Linked DNA regions of Homo sapiens: region 1 is linked to region 2. Evidence: promoter capture Hi-C in human tissues and cell types (Jung and others, 2019). All regions are on one chromosome and are shown on one strand. The core of a region is centred on a gene start or on the middle of the fragment in contact, and the rest is flanking DNA. Distances in the headings are between cores, read along the strand shown.

Evidence for each region. Contacts are between HindIII fragments. The study calls those that stand out against the background at their distance.
Region 1: a fragment that was not itself captured here is called in contact with the fragment with the promoter of NUDT14 in region 2 in 2 of the 25 tissues and cell types used here (H1 embryonic stem cells and thymus).

What each region holds. Positions count from the first base shown.
Region 1 is chr14:105,356,964-105,360,464 of GRCh38, reverse strand. The region is part of intron 4 of PACS2 (phosphofurin acidic cluster sorting protein 2); the gene reads right to left. Among named protein-coding and RNA genes, the nearest start is that of TEX22, 40 kb to the left of the region's middle. The HindIII fragment of the contact is 5,071 bases long and covers 1-3,501 here.
Region 2 is chr14:105,179,720-105,183,588 of GRCh38, reverse strand. It overlaps NUDT14 (nudix hydrolase 14), which reads left to right and starts at 2,277. Exons shown (of 5, transcript NM_177533.5): 1 at 2,277-2,460. The coding sequence starts at 2,380. RefSeq lists a silencer at 2,108-2,577. The HindIII fragment of the contact is 11,467 bases long and covers 1-3,869 here.

The DNA.
Region 1 (3,501 bases), core at 945-3,444, 180 kb before region 2:
TTAAAGTGATTCTCCTGCCTCCCCTCCCTAGTAGCTGGGATTACAGGTGTGAGCCACGACGCCCGGCTAATTTTTTTTTGTATTTTTAGTAGAGACGACATTTCACCATATTGGCCAGGCTGGTTTCGAACACCTGACCTCAGGTGATACGCCCGCCTTGGCCTCCCAAAGTGCTGGGATTACAGGCATGAGCCACCGCACCCAGCTTTAGCAATATTTTAAAATTAATGTATGTATATATTTTTTGACGTAATGCTATTGCACACTTAACAGACTACAGTACAGTGTAAACATAACTTTTATATGCACTGAAAAACCACGAAATTTGTGTGACTCACTTTATTTCAATATCCGTTTTTATTGGGGTGGCCTAGAACTGAACACACAATATCTTCAAGGTCAGCCTATATGAGAGACAGCCTCCTGCTCCTAGGCCACAGACCTGTAAAGCATGTTACTGTACTGAATACTGTAGGCAATTGTTACAGATGGTAAGTATTTATGTGTCTAAACACATTTAAACACAGAAAAAGTAGGCTGGGCACGGTGGCTCATGCTTGAAATACCAACACTTGGCCGGGTACAGTGGCTCACGCCTGTAATCCCAGCACTTTGGGAGACCAAGGTGGGCGGATCGCGAGGTCAGGAGATCGAGACCATCTTGGCTAACACGGTGAAACCCCGTCTCTACTAAAAATACAGAAAATTAGCCAGGCGTAGTGGCGGGCGCCTGTAGTCCCAGCTACTCGGGAGGCTGAGGCAGGAGAATGGCGTGAACCTGGGAGGTGGAGGTTGCAGTGAGCTGAGATTGCGGCACTGCACTCCAGCCTGGGCGACAGAGCGAGATTCTGTCTCAAAAAAAAAAAAAAAAAAAAAAGAAAGAAATACCAACACTTTGGGAGGCCCAGATAGACAGATCACTTGAGGTCAGGAGTTCAAGACCAGCCTGGACAACAGGGTGAAACCCTGTCTCCACTAAAAATAAAAAAATTAGTTGGGTGTGGTGATGAGCACCTGTAATCCCAACCACTCGGGAGGCGGAGGAAGGAGAATCACTTGAACCCGGGAGGTGGAGGTTGCAGTGAACTGAGATCGCGCCACTGCACTATAAAAGTGAAACCACATCACGAAAAAAATTTAAAAATAAAAAGCAAAAAAAAAAAAGCACAGTAAAAATAAAGTATAAAAGACATTAAGTGGTGCCTGTGAATAGGGCACTGACGATGGCAGAGCCTGCGGGGCTGGAGGTGGCTCTGGACAAGCTGGTGGGTGAGTGAGTAATGCGAAGGCCTGGGAGGTCACCACGCACCGCCGCGTAGGGGTGGACGTGTGTGTGGATGCGAAGGCCTGGGAGGTCGCCATGCACCGCCGTGTAGGGATGGACGTGTGTGTGACCAGGCCCTGGACACCTGGGCCACACTGAGTTCACACAGGAATAAAGTAACTGTGCTATGGTGTTACGATGGCTACCATGTCATCAGGAGATAGGAAGTGTCCAGTGCCATCATATTCTCACGGGGCCACCCATTGATATGCAGCCCACACCTGACTGGGCTGTCATCAGCAGCCTGTGGCTGTGCAGACACTCATAGAGAGAAACTAAAGGGAATCCAGCATGCAAACGGTCAGGGTGACGCTCCCGCGCTGTCCTTACCCTGAGGTCTTCCTGTGTCCCACCATGAGCCGCCCGCCCCTCACAGGTCCCCTTGGGCTGGACCTGGCCCCAGTGGCATGTGCAGCTTGTGGCGAGGCCACAAGAGGAGTCCGGCTGTGCAAAGAAGCATGGCTGCTCCCTCAGCCACCACCGCACTCCCAGGTCACCCCTTCGCCTGGTCATGGGTCTGTCAACCTTCCTGTCTTGTCGGGGAGCCCACAGGCCCCAGCCTCAGACAATGGCCACCAGCTGGCATGCCTGCGTCTCCCAGGCTGCAGCCCCAGGGTGGTCTGGCCACACGAACGCCCACCCCTACACACTCCCTCTACGGGTGCTGGGGTGAGTTCTGAGAGCCACACCACAGGAGAAGGCCCCACGTCTGCCCCCACCGCACACCTGCCTCTGCGGAGCTGCCTCTGAGAGGGACCACCTGCAGTCAGCTCAAGCTTCCTGAGAAGTGGCAGGCAGAGGCGCGTGCCCAGCAGGCCCTGGGGCTGCGGTCACTCCTGATGGTCCCAGCCAGAACTGCTGGTCAGCCTGCAGACCTAAGCCACCCCACGCCGGCGTCCAGCTCCTGGCACCCATGAGGCCCGGCCCCTACCCTGGGCCACCTTGGACTCCACTTCCTCAGCCTCAGAGTAAGTCCAGGGCTCTGGGCCTCAGCTCACACAGAATGAGTGCCAGGTGAGGGCAGAGCTATGGTGTGGCAGGGGCCCAGGCTGCTCCCAGCCCCTCCTGCCCCCTGCGTGTGCACCCATTTGAAGGGAGATGACACCTGTGTCCCCACAGCCATCGCCTCCTGGTCTCCCCACAGCCTGGAGGTCCTGGGCAGGTGCCCCCCACATCCTCTCCCACCACACTCTCAGCCCTGGCCTCGAGTCCGCCCAACAGCCCGCCTCACCCCACCCTGTGCCCTCAAGGACCCTTCCCCACCGCCGAGCACTACTCTCAAATGCATGGCGCCAGCCTCACCGACACCCCACTCTCACGACAGTCCCTATGGCAGCACCCATGCCCTCACCCCCGTCTCAGGCGTGCAGTCTCGGAGCCAGCAAGCCCCCATGGCACAGCTGCCTGAGCCCAGCTGGTGAGAGCCCCCCACCTCTGCCACCTGTGTCCGTCTGTGCCCTCGGGGCTGTCCCGCCTCCGCAATCTCCCGTGCTCATACTCTCAACAAGCCAGCAACGCTCACAGGTGGGAACCAGCCCCAAAAGGTGGCAGGACACAGGGAGCCCATGAACCGCCCTGGTGCTCGGGGACACATGGGAGGACCCAACTAGGTTCTGGGACCAGGCTGCCAGTGGAAGGTGGAAGGATGCCCCGAGGGCCTGGAGGAGATGCTGGAGGGGAGAGCGAGGAGCAGTCAGATGACCTCGGCTTTGGAAGCCACAGGTGCAGGGCGAGGGAGCCTTGGGGTGGGGGCCACAGGCTCAGGGGCAGGGCACTGGAACTACATCCAGGGGTGGGGCTTTTCTGCCAAGAGTGAAGAACAGATGATGGGATTTCAAGCAGCAGACGATGTGGCTGGTGTGACCTGGGGTGGGGGAAGGTTGCTCCAGCCTCTCCCCGGGGATCAGGAGGGGACAGCCCAAGGCTGGGAGGACAGGTGAGGGAGGGGCCTGGGAGCAGAGGCCAGCATTCAGGGCAAGGACGTCAAACACAGAAGCACCAGTGCTGAGAGGGGCTGGGAGGAGCCGCCTGGGGCACTGGGGTGCAGACTGAGAGATGTGGGCGGAGCAGCCTGGGGCAGGAGCTCACAGGGACCGGCAGGGATCAGCAGGACATCACCTGCATGGCTACACAGGGACCAGCAGGGATCAGCAGGACATCGCCTGCATGGCTAATGG
Region 2 (3,869 bases), core at 1,028-3,527:
GGATTACAAGCACACACCACCACGGCTGGCTTTTAGTAGAGACAGGGTTTCACCATGTTGTCCAGGCTGGTCTCGAACTCTTGACATCACGTGATCTGCCTGCCTCGGCCTCCCAAAGTGCTGGGATTACAGGCATGAGCCACCGCGCCCGGCCTGGACATTTCATATACACAAAATCGCAGAGGACACGGCCTTTGTGTCTGGCTTCTTTTGCTGAGCATAGTGTCGCTGTCGCTTGTGTGGGAATTTCTCTCCTCATGGCTGAGTTGTGCTACCTTACACGTCTACACTGCATTTTCTGGATCCATTCACCTGGCAACGGATGCTTGGGTTGTTCTTCCCTTTGGCTGCTGTGAGGAAGCATCTGTCTGAGTGTCTGTTTTCAACTCCTTTGGGTGGATACCCAGGAAGACAGTTGCTGGACCACAGGGTAATTCTATGCTTAACTTTTTGAGGAGCCGCCAGGCTGCGTCCCACAGTGGGCTCCTTGCTGATATTTTCAGGCACTCAGCTCTGCAGTCTGCACTGCCAGACACCTGGACCCGAGTGAGTCTGAGGAGCACGGTGCTTTGAGGAGCTGCTGGCTCTCCCAGGGGCTCCTTGATGGGGCTCCTGTTGCCTCTGCCTGTCCCGGGGCTGCTGCTGCTGGAAGCTGAGACTCATCCTCATTTTCCATGCAACCACGGGCAGGAAGGAGCCTGCACGCGACATGCCAGGGTGCGCGCTTACCCTGGGCCCCTCGTGCACCGGAGGAAGAGGCCTGCCTGGCTGTGGGGTAGGGTGGGGCCAGCTTCTGGGCTGGGCGCTCTGGCTTCCGGGACACCAGGCGGAATGGCTAAAGCAGGGAGACACAGGCCCCTGTAGAGCTACTGGGGCGGTGACAGCTGGACTTGGATGCTGGCTTCATGACCGTGCTCCCCAGCGTTCCCACCTGGTGATGTCCCTCCCCTGGAATCTGCCGGAGGCCCAGGACTTTCTGACCCACAGGATGCCCCAGGAATGACACCATATGACATCTGAGGCCAGGTCACACAAAGCCTGGCAGCTTGGCCTGGCCTGGTGAACGTGCTCTGGAGGGAGCCAGCTGCCACGGGAGAATCCAACTACCCCGAGACCACCATGCTGCAGGGAAGCCCACGCCAGCCACATGGGAGGCCAGCCGGCCCTAGCTGTTCCAGCCACCCAACTGAGGGCGGGGGCGAAGAGGCCATCCTGGACGGTCCACCCCGTTTGGCCTTCAGACGACTCCAGCCCCAGCTGCCACCTGATTACAACTGCAGAGAGACCCCAAGACAGGGCTGCCTGGCTGAGCTGGGCAACCCACAGGCCAGGCGATAACGGGGTGCTTTAAGGCACTAAGCTTTGGAGGAGTGTTTTGTTACACGGCAATAGTTAACAGGGAACTGGGAGTCGATTTCAAGCTCACATGGCCAGTCCACCCTGAGCATGTCCCCTGGGCCATAGTTCAGAAAGCAGGTGCAGGTCAGGGTTCAGGGCCAGTGTGGGCCTCAATATTGTTTCCTGCCCCCGTGGAGGCCGTGGTGGCATTTGGAGGGGGTCCTTGGAATCCATGCCCAAGGAAGCACTGAAGCTGCCTGGGACCCTCCCACACCCAGGAAGGGCCGTCATCAAGGTAGGACTTGCAGGGGGAGGGAAGGGCAGCTGGCTTTTGAGTGGAGGAGGGACAGCTCCAGAGACAGCGTGGCAGCTCCCAGCCACCCTCGCCACCAGGAACCTCGAGGGGAGGCCCCCTCGGCCCAAGCTCTGGCCCCTCCAGCTCCCTACTCTCCTCTCCCCTAGCTTCCTTCCAGGGCCCTCTCTCTTTGGTCTCCTGTGATTTTCTTCCTGGGCCCACAGTCCCTCCCTCCCTGGGGGGCTGCCCCGCCCCCGGCCCCGCCCGCGGACCCCTGGAGTAACTTAATCTCGGGGTTGTGGTCCATCCCCAGAGTGGGGAGGCATCCGCTCGGCCCATCGCACCCCAAAGCTGCAGGCCCTTAGCTCCAACCACCGCCAGGCCCTCCCTCCCCCAGCCAAGAGGTCCCGAGTCCCACCCAAGCACTGTACCCCGGCCCGGCTGGCCCCGCCCGGCGGCCGGGGTCGACCCGGCCAGTCCTTCCCCCGGGCGACGCCCACGTGCCTGCGCGGCTTCCCTGGCACCGCGGCGACCAGCGCCCCGAGGCGCGCGGCACCCGACAGGTGGCACCTGCGAGCCCCGCCCACCTCGGCCGCCCCGCCCACCTCGGCCGCCCCGCCCCGCGCGCCCACGGAGCATGCTCAGAGCCGCGGTCACGCGCCCGCCCGAAGGCTCCTGTCGGGACAGGGCGCCGCCCCGTGTCGGCCCCCGCAGAGCTCGCGGCCCCCGCCTGTCCGGGCGCCGCCATGGAGCGCATCGAGGGGGCGTCCGTGGGCCGCTGCGCCGCCTCACCCTACCTGCGGCCGCTCACGCTGCATTACCGCCAGGTGAGCCCGCGCCCCCGCGTCCCCCGCGCCCCCGCCGGCGGCCCGGCCCACGACCCGCGCCCCGCCCACCATCTTCCGCGCTGCCGGCCCCGCCCCGGAGCCCCGCCCCCGCCTCCCGCCGATCTCCCGGGCGGCCGCTTGTCCGCCCGCCGGATCGCGGGTTCCCAGACCCAGTGAGCCCCCAGGCCGGGGAGGGGCCGCGGGAGGGACATCTGAGGGGGCACCACTCATCCTTTCAAGGAAGCATTGCTGGGCCCCATCCTTCCCGCCCGCCCAATCCGACCCTCTTGGCAGTGGAACTCCTTGGTTGCCCTGGGGATCAGGGAAGGCTTCCTGGAAGTGGTGGCTTTCATGCTACCACTTGAAGGAGGAGATAGCTGGGCCGAGGAGGAGGGAGCAAGGAGCGCAGAGGCCGGGCGCAGGGAGGTAGGAGAAGGAGCTGAGTGAGAACTTGAGAGAGCCTCTCAAAGCAGGCTTCCTCCTTGGGGTTTTTTCCAGGGAGGGCACCTCCTTGGAGTCTCCATCTGCCTAAGCTCAGCCTTCCCCACCTCCTAGGGTGTCACCTTCTCCCATGCCAGGCCACGGCACAAGAGGCTGTATTGCCTCACTTAGCACCAGGCACATGGTAGGTTCACAAGGAATATTTTGTTTTGTTTTGTTTTTGAGACAGGGTCTTGCTGTCGCCCAGGCTGGAGTGCAGTGGCATGGTCACAGCTCACTGCAGCCTCAACCTCCTGGGCTCAAGCGATCCTCCTGCCTCAGCCCCCGCCCCAGTAGCTGGGACCACAGGTGCACACCACCACACCTGGCTAATGTTTAAATTTTTTTGTAGAGACGACGTCTCACTGTTGCCCAGGCTGGTCTTGAACTTCTGGCCTCAACCGATCCTCCTGCCTTGGCTTCCCAAAGCATGGGGATTACAGGCATGAGGCATATGTGTTGGGTGAAGGAGCTGCTGCCATCCTTTTCCCACATCCAGTGGATCACTGAGTCCCGGGCCGTCTTCCTCCAAGCCCAGCCCTGTCCAGTTAGGGCCCCACCTTTTGCTTGCATGCCCACCTGCCCCCAGCAGATCTCCCCTCTGCCAGAGCTCCTTCATGCCATTAAGGCAAAGACCACCTTCCTGGTCACAGTCAGTCCAGCCCCCCAGCCTATCAGGTCAGGTGGTCCAGGTCGCAGTGCCTCTCTGCCTGCCTGCCTCCCTCCCTCAGGGGGCATCCTGTCCCCCCCATCACATCCAGGACTCTGCCCCTCGCCATCCTGGAGAAGCCCTCTTGGCCCCCAGCCTGAGAGAGGCCCTGTGCCCCTCACTTTCCCTGTTGCGGGAGTCCTGTTGGCGCTGGAGGACAGGGGATCCCTCTCCCCAAGGCGAAGCTAAGCTGGTGGTGCTGGCAGGGGGCAGCTGGGAT